Regions from separate parts of the Homo sapiens genome. Here region 2 is linked to region 1. Evidence: promoter capture Hi-C in 16 types of primary human blood cells and fetal thymus (Javierre and others, 2016). All regions are on one chromosome and are shown on one strand. Each heading gives the region's core, a stretch centred on a gene start or on the middle of the fragment in contact. The rest is flanking DNA. Distances are from core to core; before and after follow the strand shown.

What was found. Contacts are between HindIII fragments. The CHiCAGO score rates a contact against its expected background, and 5 or more counts as called.
Region 2: a contact is called between a fragment that was not itself captured here and the fragment with the promoter of PPP1R3D in region 1, in 1 of 17 cell types (neutrophils). The highest score is 6.4, in neutrophils.

The regions. Positions count from the first base shown.
Region 1 is chr20:59,937,773-59,944,759 of GRCh38, reverse strand. It overlaps PPP1R3D (protein phosphatase 1 regulatory subunit 3D), which reads left to right and starts at 4,455. Exons shown (of 1, transcript NM_006242.4): 1 at 4,455-6,987. The coding sequence starts at 4,829. The coding sequence ends at 5,728. It overlaps FAM217B (family with sequence similarity 217 member B), which reads right to left and starts at 4,371. Exons shown (of 4, transcript NM_022106.3): 1 at 4,225-4,371; 2 at 2,451-2,562; 3 at 2,248-2,333; 4 at 1-820. The coding sequence starts at 816. RefSeq lists silencers at 4,134-4,513, 4,864-4,993 and an enhancer at 4,272-4,566. The HindIII fragment of the contact is 3,202 bases long and covers 1,389-4,590 here.
Region 2 is chr20:60,090,609-60,097,595 of GRCh38, reverse strand. All of the region lies in intron 2 of LOC729296 (a long non-coding RNA gene), which reads right to left. Among named protein-coding and RNA genes, the nearest start is that of LINC02910, 38 kb to the right of the region's middle. The HindIII fragment of the contact is 4,728 bases long and covers 1,188-5,915 here.

The DNA.
Region 1 (6,987 bases), core at 3,206-5,705:
ATCAATGGGTCTAGGGGAAGTCTCAAATGCATAATGTGATGGGTGGATTTCTTCATGGTGAAAAGCTTTCTTTCGGGAAGGGCCTGACTTTGAAGCCCCTTCCTGGTGAGGTAGTGGCTTGGACAGAGCACTAGCAATTAGCTTACTTCTCCCAGGGCTTTTCAGTGCCCCTGAGGTCCCAGGGGCAGTGGGGGGCCTTGCTTTGCCCCCCTTTGCTTTTTCACACTGTACAGTCTGGACTTGCAGCCACTCAAGCTGAATAAGTCTATCGATATACTTCCCAAGAAGTCCTCCCACTCGGGGCACGGCTTCCGTTTTGTTCTCTGCGTTCAGAAGCAGGGCCATATCTCGTAGGTCCCAGGAGCTGAAAGGGGATGGAAGGAAATTAGGATAATAGTATTCAGGTTTTGTATGGCCCTGACCAGGGTGAAGATCAAAGTAAACTGGATCAATTTCTTCAGCTCGAAGATTGAGATCTGGAGGTGTGAGGGGAGAAGGAGGAATGGGAATTCTTTCCGAATCAGAGAGATCACTTGCACTGTCCTCATCAGCATTCTCTTTAATAATTTTCATTGACTGAAAATCAAGAAACAGTTTATTCCCTGAGGCCCCCTGACACCTGGAACCGAGTGGATTCCTTTTGCGTCTTGCTTCCGGGGAAATGCTTTCTTTAAGTTTTTCTTCAGTAGGCTGGGTGACAGCTGTGAGGCTGCTTCTCGGCTGGGAAGAAGCGTGGGGTACTTGGGATTTACTCTGCCTTTTTCCTGAAGAATTCTTTGAATGTTGCACTTTATTCCAAGATGGGCCAGCATTCATATTGCTGTGAGAAAATAAAACTGCAATTCTTACCACATATGACAAAAAATGGTCTGGCTATAATTAAACAAACAAAAAGAATCTTCTAGTTGTACTTTTTTTTGTCTCAGCTATTAGTAGGCATTAGAAAATGTCAGCTTCCAAACTCCTTAAAGCATAAGTAATTTTACAGAACATTTTCCCATATAATACTCTATTTGAGATACATTATATAATGCATGTGACAAAAGAGAATGCACAGTTTCCATTTTATATCAAATATTAGCATTTAGGAAAAACATTAACATTTCTCAAAGTGCTTGTTTCATACTTTCGTGTGTACTTTAAAAAAAAAACATTAGTTTGGAAAAAATCAGTCGTAGAACTCTGGAATTGTTACCATCAAAAGCATTTAATAACATTCAGAAGTAAAAACAGTTTTATTTTATACACCTATTTTAAATTAAGTGTAAATATCAAATAAACATGCAAGTTTTGCAGTTTAATCACTGATTGGTGGCGATTCTGAGCTGAGTGAAATTTTAATATATAAAAGTATTGCACATACAAACCTGTACCTTAAATCAAAAGCTTGTTACAATGTTTTCAAACAGAAAACACATTTGGGAAAATTGTGTTTAAAGAACAGAAATAAAATCATATGGTGCCCTGTAACACATATGAATGAAAACACAGGGTCTTAGTGTTACCTTGTGAATAGCAGGTAAAGGGAATAATGAATACTGTGTGCATTATGAGTATAGAAACTAATTCTCTCTGGCATAATTTATTCTGATGCTGAATCTCACATCAGAGTTGAAAATATCCTCTTTTCAATTTATTTACCAAGAACGTGGCATTTAAGATTAATAATACTTCTCTGTAATATAAGTCAGATAGAATGAATAGAAATGGGTGGTAAACATGCTTTCTGGAAACTTCAGAGGTTCATTTGCCCAGTGGTTTCAAACAACCTAAGCAACTATTTGAATACGTGCTACATTTTAATTAATAAATATGCAGGACATTAAATCATTGCCAATAGTACAACGTGTGCTCAATAAATGTTGAATAAATGAAGAAATGAAGGAATCTCCATTATTCAGAATTCATAACACTGTTAAAACATTTTGTTCCTGCCTGTCAGTATGCATCCATAAAAATTAATTATTGTCACTATCCTTTTATATAAAAGGAAACTAACATAGAAAAGTGATTAAAGGACTTACTCAAAATTATAATTCTGCTAACAACTGCCAGAATTATGACCGTTGGAATCCTTATCCACTATTATGCTTAAACCACTTTTCTATTCATTTCTGCTAGAAAAAAATTATAAATGTATATTTCTTATCTATAGACATACTTTTTTCCCCACTCCACATATTCAATCTGGACAACAGAGATAATGAGTCTTTTGCAAGATAAAGCAATTATACTAAAACTATTTACCTGCTTTTCTGATGAGATTCATTCACCCTATTCCTCTTCTTGAAAAAATCACGTGGCTGATCATCATCTCGGGTTTGATGGACTGTCTAAAAACAGGGATGCAGTAATAAACACTGTGAACATGTACACAAGAAACAAGCAAGCAAACAAACAAAAATCCCAGAATAAATCTAAGTCAGATTTTTCTTCTAAGTTTACATTACCTTTCCTGTAGTGCTCAAAATATTCTTGCTCAATCTGCTGGAAGATGATGACAGCTGGGGAGGTGACTTCTTTATTCCTCTTATATTTGGAAAGGTCTCCTCACCACCGGAACTAGAAGCAACAGAATACTGTCAGTAACTATTGATTGCAAATGGTCCTACCACCAGTATCGGGTTGGTTTTTCACTTGTTTTTTAATACTTGTATAATATTGAAATATTAAGGCTGTGATCATATAGTGGTTTGCACTCTAGGTTATGAAATACTGGGGAAGGGAGACATTGTCTTATGCTTACAGCTTTGTCTTTTCTGCTTATTACAGTAGATATTAGAGACAGGATCACAGGATCACACTACTATAAATACTGTGAATGGATTCCATCTCTCTCTCTCTCTCCCTGTTCACACACAGGTATAATCTTCCTTGGAAATAATATGTTGAAGAAATCTGGAAGGCTAAATAAGGTCAGGTCTTATTACAGCGTTCAATCATTGCATTGCCCAATCATTCATTCATGCAACAAATAATTACAGGAGTACCCAGAAAAATGGCAATGATTATGCACGTCCCTGTTCAGAAGGAGCTTAAACTCTAGGAGGAACGTTCCCATTCAATTTTTCGGCCTTCTCTATCACATCAATCCATTATAAGACTTTCCATATATTCATACATATTACATATTATATATCATCTCTTTATGAAGCATTGTTGACCTATACCACATATTGCTGTTATTCCCCTCTCATTTTGAGTGGCCTATTAAAAGTGCACTGAATGGAAATTGGATACTTCTCTTTCCCGTATCACCTGTCTCTGTAAAATAAAAGAGATGATTATAGAAGATTTTTATTTTCTTCCTGAAACTTTCCTGTATTTTTCCCACATTAATCATGTAAGCCTTTTTAGTTAGCTTACATCCAATGATAAATAAAATCATTCTCTCACATTTCATGAATTATACCACAATCAACAGCCTTGACTCATTTTAGATGCAACGAATGTTCTTGAATCAACCCCCTTTCATTAGTCTGGTTTTCTTTCTGCTTTGTCCCTCTGGACAATAAAAAGGAACCTTCTTAATGGAATGGCTGGCCCCAAACTGCTCTCTGGAAAGTGCACTTGCATCTTTTCTACTTCATTTCACCTGGTATGCTTTACACCAAAGGCTGTGGGGTTTTGTGCTCAAAGCTACCGGGTGAGAGACACGAATGCCTGCAGGGTTCTAAATAGGCAGAAAACAAGCTCCAGGCCTTGCTGGTGTTTCTGGCTTGCTTGGAAACAAAGCTAAAAGTCGGAGATTCTGGCTACAAATATGCTCCCCAAGCGCCAGAGGCTGATTAAGGGCAGCTGCAGAAGTCATCAGCGGGTAATAACTCTTGTTCCCCTGTCTTCCTCTCTGGCGCGGAGTCCAGGAAGACAACAGCAGCACCTCCCCTCCCCACCCTCAAGGGAATCTGCTGGCCATTCGGTGCGGCAAAGCATTCTGGGTGATGTGGACATGACGCTGCTCCTCTACGCAGTGAGGCTCCCTCGGTCTGACCAAGGGTCCAGGTTGCAGTGAACCTGTCCAAAGTGTGGGCTGGCCTCGATGTTTAAAATTAGCCTGAGACCAGCTCCTGGCAAGGCCGGTTTTTGCACCACCGCTCCCCCCATCCACAACCCAGAAATCTAAGGACACGCAGCATGCATTTTCCTTGTCCTCCGTTTGTGCAGACAAAGTCTATGATCGATAGGCGCGCAATCCAGGCAGACGTAAACAGAAATTGATCAGACCTGTTTCGCGACTGCAGCGGACACGTGACGAGGCTGCCAGCCTTCCTTCCTCTCCGGCGCCCGCGCGGGGACGCCCGGCTGCGGCGCGCTGCGGCAGGGGAGCTGGAGGCGGAGGCGCGCAGCTCCGCTGAGCTCCCTGGCTGAGCTGAGGCCGGCGGGGGCCCGCCTGCAGGCGGCGTCACGAGGGGCGGGGCGGAGGCTCGCTAGGAAGTTGCACCCGGTCAAGTTGCAGCCTTGTAAGTAACGCCGCGGACCGGGAAAGTGGGAGGGGCCGCTCCCGGAACGCAGCCTTCTTGTAAGAACCTCCAAGGAAGCAAGAAGAAAAAAGAGGCGCTACCCTGCGCTCCCGGGAGGCCTCTGAAAGCTTCCACTAGAGAAAAACTCCCCACTCTTACAATTTCTTTAACCGCAAGAAGCGGAGGACCTGGACAAGGACTCGAGGAGCAAGGTGGCGAACCAAGGGTAGGGCGCACCGGGCCCGAGAGGTCCCCCGCAGGTTGCAGATACGGTGGACTCTCTGCGGCTTCTGAGCACGGAGGGAGCTGTCGCGGGGTCGGGAGGTCGTCTCTCATCCCTGCCTCATCTTCCGACGGCCGGCGGGGCCATGTCCAGAGGCCCGAGCTCCGCGGTCCTGCCTAGCGCCCTGGGATCCCGGAAGCTCGGCCCCCGGAGCCTCAGCTGCCTGTCGGACCTGGACGGCGGCGTGGCCCTGGAGCCGCGGGCCTGTAGGCCCCCTGGGAGCCCGGGCCGCGCGCCGCCGCCAACGCCAGCGCCGTCGGGCTGCGACCCCCGCCTGCGGCCCATCATCCTGCGGCGGGCGCGCTCACTGCCCAGCTCCCCCGAGCGCCGCCAGAAGGCCGCGGGCGCGCCGGGCGCTGCGTGTCGGCCGGGCTGCAGCCAGAAGCTCCGCGTGCGCTTCGCCGACGCCCTGGGCTTGGAGCTGGCACAGGTCAAGGTGTTCAACGCGGGAGACGACCCGTCCGTGCCGCTGCACGTGCTGTCGCGGCTCGCAATCAACTCGGACCTGTGCTGCAGCAGCCAGGACCTGGAGTTCACCCTGCATTGCCTGGTGCCCGATTTCCCGCCGCCCGTCGAGGCCGCCGACTTTGGCGAGCGCCTGCAGCGGCAGCTCGTGTGCCTGGAGCGTGTCACTTGCTCGGACCTTGGCATCAGCGGTACGGTGCGCGTGTGCAACGTGGCCTTCGAGAAGCAGGTGGCTGTGCGCTACACTTTCTCGGGCTGGCGCAGTACCCACGAGGCGGTGGCGCGGTGGCGCGGGCCCGCAGGCCCCGAGGGCACGGAGGACGTTTTCACCTTCGGCTTTCCAGTACCGCCCTTCCTGCTGGAGCTCGGCTCCCGCGTGCACTTCGCGGTGCGCTACCAAGTGGCGGGTGCCGAGTACTGGGACAACAACGACCACCGAGACTACAGCCTCACATGTCGCAACCACGCGCTGCACATGCCTCGCGGGGAGTGCGAAGAGAGCTGGATCCACTTCATCTGAGCCGCGCGGGGACCGGCCACCTGGAGCCTCCACACCTAAGCTGCGCCTCCTGTCATTTCCCTGCTGGGCTCTCACATCTATCTGGTTGTTCTTCACCACCCTCCAAGTCCTCTGACCTAATTTTCTGCTGCAAGGTCCCCTGGCAGTGGCCCATCCTGTCTTCTACTTGAAACGTCTGAGTCACTTGGTCTAAAAAGTAGCCTCAGGTGGCCAGAAGGCCGAGTTGTGTAATGAGTTGGGGCAGGGTGGTGGGGTAGGTGCATGGGAGGGTGGGCCCTCTGGGGAGGCCCAAGCAGCTTGTTTTGCAAAGGCCCAAGTCCTCCTGCTAGGAAAAGCTTTTGCATGTGTCCTGAATGTGTCTCTGTAAACATAGCTGTTATTTATTATTGTGATGTTGGGACCTTTAGCCCATAGCGGATGCCTCCTCAGGAATATTCTCGATTTAATAAGCTAAAAAAAAAAAGTTCTGTGTTTGTGCCCACAGTAAACAGAATGTACAGTGTGACCCACATCGTGGTCCCTCCAGGCATTCCTGCCCCAGGATAAGGAAAACCTGAGCCCACATCTGATTGCCAACGGCTGTAGCCTTCTAACAGTGGGAAACTATTAATAGGCAAGAAATTTCTGCTTTATCAGTCATCACACAACCATTCCTGGGCATTGAGACTGTCCTGGTTAGGCTGTGTGTCTCCTACATTAACAGCTGGGGAGGAGGGAAAAGCTTCAGACTTTTAAACTAGCAAAACAGTTATTTCTCTGCATTCACAATTCTGATTTCATGTATTTCTCTGTACATGTTTGATCATTATCAGGCCATTCTGTTTAAGTTTGAAACTAAGCATTTTAAGAAGTCTTGCCTCAGTTATTTCAGTTTTCAGGTGACTAGAGAATTTCAGGCAACAGTGCCCTTTGCAATTACCTTTTTGATGATTAAGGTGACTATTTTTATTTCTTGTTAAGCATCAGAAGATGTCAGCATTCATCTTTTGGGAGTCCAGTTACAAGGTGGAACTAGAAGGTGTTTTCAGCAATAGCCAGAGCACTGGAGGAAAAATAATTGACAAATATTTATACTTTTAAATTGTTTTGAACTGTATTTACATACATCATGTTTTATCAGGTACCCACCAACTTTATACTTTCTGCCTTCAGATAGAGTTTCTAACATTTTCTAGTTTGTCAGTTTTAAAATATAAAATTCTTTTATGTTTTTAAACCGTCAACCAAGAAGTCAAGACCACTGTCCCCTGCTGAGTTAG
Region 2 (6,987 bases), core at 2,302-4,801, 150 kb before region 1:
CAACTAGCACCAGCAGAGACTTCCTATGTCGTCTTCAAAGGCCAAGCAAGAGCTGAAATGCGTGGTTTTCTCACCCTGTGATTCAATGTCATTTTATGCCATGACACCACACTTCAGGAAACATAGGCAATCAATGCTGCTAGTTCCTTTTTCTTCTCCTCTCCCCAGAGGTCAAGTTGCCTTAATGAATTGCAGTACTGACTTGCTCCTTGTGGCTTCTTGTCTTTGATGAACGCTGTAGCAGTTGGACATGGCTCTTGAGCTGGGTAACAAGCAGCTCCGTAAATGCCCAGCAATCTATTAAGTGTGTCACGGTCTGCTCTTCACTCTGCACCTCTCCAAGGTGAACAGAAGAGGTGTCAGCTCCAGTTTGTGATGGTGTGTCAAAGCTGTGACAGGTAAATAATTCTTATTTTATCTTATTTTTTGCAGATGTTAACAGGCCATGTAATCAGATGCATCAATCTGATTTTCACAGACAGCAGCCCCTGAGCCAGTCCAAGCCTCAGTCCTGGGGCTGACGATGACCAGGAGCACGGGCTGAACAAGGGAACAGAGCCCCAGAGCTCTCTGGAGCCAGAAATTATGTTTTAGTTGTGGAGATCACAGAGCACTTCAGAGAGATTCCTGCGTGGGGAGCCATCTTGGACACTGACTGCCGAGGGCTTTCTGGCAGGTGACAGCATAGGACATTTGACGAGGACATTCTTACCTCCTTTGTCATTTACCTTGTTATTCTTGATGAGCAGCTGAGTGAGCATAGACTTGGAGCTGCCCATCTTACAAATGGAATATTAAACAGAGGCACTACAGCAAGGCTGCCTGGCAAAGGGACACGTGCGTGAAAAAAAAAAAACAGTGGAAGGTTGAATTATTTCTGGAATTTGATCTGCTAATTCATCAGCAGCTTAGGGAAGGCAAGGTATAACCAGAGTGCTTTGATTCTCTGTGATTGTTCCGGGCTTTGTCCCTCTCTGTGCATCTCTCTAACCCACAGGCTGGCCTCTGCGTGGAACAAGAGTGGTTGCAGGATCCAAAACCATGGGAATGCAGCACACCATCTGGAAGGAGACAGAGCTTTTCTTTCCCAGCTGCTTACCAAAGACGTGGGTGTCACTCAGATTGGACCGACTGGAGGCATCTTTCCACCCCTGAACAAGGACTACAGCCTTAGGCTTATGAAAGCTTCTCCTGGCATTGTAGATGCCACAATTCCAAGCCCCCTCCCCCACACGCACACGTGGGCACGCACACACACACACACACACACACACACACACACTTCACCGTGGGGAAGGGAGCAACAGCATTCGCATGGGAATTACATTTCATTATAATTGAGGTTTTATTTTAATCACCATCATTATCAGCAGCAGCTCACATCCACCCGGAGCGTCTATGCCGGCATTTTACTAGGAGCTTAGCATGGATTCCCTCACTTCACCCTCCCATCAACCGGAGAAATGATTTGCTCAAGGTCCTGTGGCCCATACATGGCTGAGCTGCAATGGGAGTCCAGGTCCCAACTCCAGTGCCTGTTTCTCTGACTGCGGAGCTATGGCTACAGCCATGCAGAGCACGAGAGAGTCTCCACGTAGGTCAGTAGGTACATGTGACTTGGAGTGGCTCATAACAAAAACTCAACTCAAATCAGTTTCAGAGAATAAGATGGGAATGCAAGGGACTCACTGGCTCACGCAAACGAGGGCTCTTGTCCCAGTTGTGCCCAGAATCTCCAAGGAGATGCCTGGGACTCGACCTTTCTCCTTCTGTCAGTTCCTCCTTCCTAGGTGGTGGCTTCAATCTCAGGACCTTCTGTTCACAGAGAGCTCCTCACCTGCCCCCACTAGCTTAGCAACCCTGGCAGAAAGCCATTCAGCATTGCTGACTTTATCCTCATGGGACCCTGTTGGGCAAGGAGCCCAGCCTTACACCAATCACAGAGGCCAAGGGTTTAGAATATGTGAGCTTGCCTGAGCTGGGTGATGTGTGCACCACATGGACTAAGAGTGGAGAAGGGATATTCCCCTGAGATAAAATAGAGGATCACCCTCCAGAAATTGGGGAATGCGTCCCAGACAGAATAGAATCACGGATACCTGCTACGAAAGACTTTGTCTCCCTCGGGAGAGTGTGAGCCTCTTCCTATCCAGTCTGTTTCCCACAAGACAGCAAAGCCAGCAGTCTGTCTGCCACCATCACCTGTCCAGTCCACCCCCTGCCCTGGCTTGTGTCCTTCCTCTTCTCCCACCTTAGCAGATAGTCTGCAGAAAGGGTCAACTCCCAGAAAATGCATAAAACTGATGGAGATTTCCCCCCATCTATGGACAGCATTCTTGCGCCCATTTGCCCATAGTCTTCCCATCTACCTTGTGAGCTTGTTCTCAGGGAAAGCCCTGCTATCAGTCATTCACATGTTAGTTCAATGTTTGCCAAACTTAAATCGTCTAGGGAACCCCTATATGAATCATACCCTACACGCATATCACCAGGACCACATTGTTTACTTCATATTTTTCTTCAAATTATCTCAGCTTTCAAATGAAAATAAATACACTTAAAAATGAAACTTGCCACAAATAGAAAACAATCAAAAAAAGGAATACCATGAAAATCAATGAATATTATTATATTCTGCTGAGGTACTGCAGCTGTCAACACCTCTGGGCCTCTGGTCCATTCTCCCTGTTAAGAAAGAGAAAATGGCAAGAGCCACAGAGGCGGCTGAGCCCCAGTCTGAGACACTCTCTGAGGCTCTCAGGACTGAATGGAACTGAAGAGGAAGAACGAACGTTTACTGTGTGGATGGTTACTTAATGCCAAGTCTCTGAACACCTCCTGGTGGTAAGTGCCCCTCACTCACCAGGGCACCCCTGGTAAGCACCCCAGAAAAGCCATCAAGGACCTCAACCCTTCTCCTGGAATGAACAAGAACCCCCCACAGGGAGTCATTTCTGGTCCAGGAAAAAGATGATGCCCCACACTCTTGGAAGCAAACCAATCAATACCTGCCCTGCAGTTTATGTAACACACACATCTTAGAATCCTTAATGTACACTTACATGAATCCCTTCCCTCCAATCCAGACAGCATCAGCCAAGAACCTCAATGAATTAAAACAGAGAATGGCAAGCTCTCTCGGGGGTTGTTGGCCCCACTCTCCTGTGGCTTCTTCCCAATGACCCCTGCTTATCGAAAAGCGTGGGGACACACAGAGGATGAAGGGTTGCCCCTCTGTTGTCAGAGGGAGAACAGAGGGCAAGACTCTCAGGAAATGGGGTTTCCAAGGCAACAGAGAAAATAAGCGACTTCATGTCCATGCAACAATGTCACCTGGAGCCGTCCCAGAGAGTAAGACAATCTTATCTACTAATGTGGAGAGATGGCCAAGACAAAGCAGAGGGAGAGAAGAGCAACCGTCTGTGGTTTTATCGCAGCAAGCGATGTCTGTCTCCATACCCAGAAATGAGCATGTGCTCTCTCTATGTATAGATCAGATGACATGGAGACATTCATTAGGCAACTACAATGTGCCTTTGCTCCTCTTACCCTCAGAACTTCCTTGAGGGGCAGGCATTATGATTCCCACTTTACATCAGTGGGAATTTGGACTTGGTGAAGTTAGGTTGTTTGCCAGAGTTATAGGCACTGATTCAGGAACCTGCCGTTCTGGTGTTTACAGCCTGCACCCCTGACCATCAGAGGCCAGACTGCTCCCTGCAAGGATGCCAGCATGTGCATGAGAGAAAAGTCTGGAAAATCATACAAAAGCATCAACAGGCCCTATCCTTAGGGGGCGAGATGGCAAAAAATGACCTCTTTTTTTCCTGTTACTCTACTTACTTCTGTGTCATTTGAGCTTGACTTTACATTGGGCATGGATAGGTTTTGTATTAAAAGTGAACCAGGCAAGAACCCTGGGTAAGGCAGGGCTCTACCCTGTCTCTCCCAGTGAGTGTAACAATAAAAGCTGGGCAAAATTGCATGGAGCACTATTTGTGAGCTCTGAAAGTAGACAGTGGCAGGCAAATCCAGAAGAAGACCAGAATGTGAAGTGCCACTGAGTGGGCAGCAGGCTCGCCATTCTTCTCCTTCTGGACCCCCGAGCCTGATACCAGCACAGCCTGAGACCTGGACATGGGCATCAGGACTCAGACAGAGAAATCAGTGGGGAGGCCTCTGGTCTGGCTTGGGGAGTGAGAAAGCAAACTCCTAGGACTCTGAGAGAGTGCAGAAATCCCCACATTTTTCTTTTTTCCATTCTCTCAGCCCCCAAGCAATAATCAGTGGCAGAAATAGGTTCCCACAAGAGCCAAAATTCTGAAGGAGGAGATGCCTCCTTTCTAGTCATTGGAGTTTCAGAAATAGAGGAGAAAGAGTGCAGGGCTGAAAAAATATGTAATGAAATGATGGCCAAAAACTTCCCAAATTTCACAAAAGATATAAGCCTGCAAATTAAGAAGTTCAGCAAACTCCAAAGGTGATAAACCCAAAGAAATCCACACCCAGACTATTTTGTATTCAAATTGTAATCAAATATTTCACTATTTTGTAATCAAAATGGTGAAAATTAAAGTAACTAATAATAATAATCTTGAAACTGACAGGGAAATGCAATCTATTTAACCTGTAGGAGAACAATGATCTGAATGACTACAGATTTCTCATCAGAAAATATGGAGGTCAGAAGGAAATGGCACACCACCTTTGAAGTGCTGAAAGGAAAGGATGTTCAAACCAGGATTTATCCAGAGAAAATACACTTCCAGAATAAAGGCAAAATAAAGATGTTTTCAGATGAAGGAAAACTAAGAGAATTTATTGCCAGCAAACATGTACTTCAAGAAGTACTAAAGGAAGTTCTTCAAAAAGAAGGAAACTTGAAGAATCAGGAATGAAGAAGCAACAGAAATGGTAACAATCTGAGTAAGTATAACAGATTGTTCTCCTCCTGAGGTTTATTTGTTTGTTTGTTTGTTTGTTTGCTTGTTTTGAGACACGGTCTCGCTCTGTCACCCACGCTTGAATGCAGTGGCACCATCATGGCTCACTGCAGCCTCAACCTCCCAGGATCAAATGATCCTTCCACCTCAGCCTCCTAAGTAGCTGGGACTAGAGGTGCATGCCACCACACCGGGATAATTTTTGTATTTTTTGTAGAGATGTGGGTTTCACCATGTTGCCCAGGCTGATCTTGAACTCCTGAGCTCAAGTGATCCACTGGCTTCAGCCTCCCAAAGTGCTGGGATTACAGGCGTGAGCCATGGTGCCCAGCCCAGTTCCCCTCCTGAGTTTTAAAAAATCTGCTGGATGTTGGAAAATAACAATTATAACCTCTGATGGGTCTTCACCCTATGTAGATATCATACATAAGACAAGTATAACATACAGAACATACAGGGGGACAGTGAAGGGACCTACAACATTTTCTGAATTCTGAATACACCACTTGTTCAATAATGACTCACAAAAATTACTCAGTAAATACTTTCTACTGGAATGCACTATGTGTTGTCCCAAGCCCCATGCTCACCAACAGGAATAGGGAGACTTTGATGAAGAGAATGGTCTTGGTCTATGAAGACTCCACGGTCTCTCAGTGACTCAATGGCCAGATCCTACCAGGAAATAAAGCAAGGAACCTCCTGCAATAGGTCCCTTGGAGCTTGGAGGAGAACAGTTTTGCTTCCCCTAAGATATCTTCCCCCACAAGAAAACTAGGAGAGCCCAGAAGGTCACACATACTGCAGGAAGCCTGGGGCCTTTTCATATACTTCAGTCATTTTTGTTTGTTTGGCAAATTGCATTTTATTTTTGAAGACTATTGGTCAGAGAGCCTCCCCATCTCACACATAGATTGATGGATGAGCAAAATATAGAGAGATACAACACAGAGAGAGAAGAGAGAGCAAGCTTCTGTGGGTCATCGTTTACTGCTCTCCTCAGCCAATATCGCTAGCATTGCCCAGTATGATCCTCAGGAGCCCTGGGACCAAACTGTTACACTCACGGCCAGAGCCTCCACCTCTCTCCCCTTGGGAATGTTATCCTCGCTGAGCTAGCAGCAGCAATAAATGATCTGATTTGTGATCTGTCCCTTTGCTCTTGGGACTGTAAATGCAGCTTTAGTATGTGATGCACAGGGCCGGGCTGTTCCCAGCCTCCCAAGTAAGCAGCTACCCAAGGCTGTAATTTCACTTTATCTCTCTCCCATTAAAAGGCAATTGAAAGTGAACCAAAGAGAATGAGGGCTGCTTGCAACTCCTGGAACCCTTGAGCAGTGCTTGCTGAAGGGCAGCTGGTGGCCCAAAGGCACCTGGTGCTAAAGGAATGGAAAAAAGGCAACTATTTGCAGAATGGCAAACTCTTAATAATAGTCACAGTAATAATCATCACAATAACTGCTGCTGCTTATGGAACACTTCTGGATGCCAGGCTCTGTGCTAGGGGCACATGTAAATGCCTTTGTTGATATCACAAGACGAATTTGCAGTAGAAGAATCTGAGTGAGGTCCAGCAAAGGTCTCAGCTTATAAGTCAGGGAGCCAGGAGCTGAACTTGGCTCTGCCAGATTCCAAAGTGTCTGCTCAGAACTGCCATATGCTCCTCCTCTTAGAACCTGGAGGAGTTAGCAGAGTCCTTCCCTTAAATTTCTGTTTTTAAATGGCAGAAGAAGGTTCCTCTGAAATTACATTTCATCAATAAGCATTTGGTAGCCAATGAGCACTAGGACTCAAGATTCAGACCCCACCTCCAAATCACGTGTTCTTCTCAGCACTCCAAGGCTCTCCGCTCAGATTCTGCTGAAGCAGCTCCTGGGAAGTTTACCACTTAAAATGACCCACCAGGGGATGGGTGGGATTCCAGAGCCCAGGACACACAAACTGTTTTACTCACGGACAGAGCCTCCACCTCTCTCACCTTGGGAATGTTCTCCTCGCTGAGCTAGCAGCAGCAATAAATGATCTGATTTGCGATCTGTCCCTT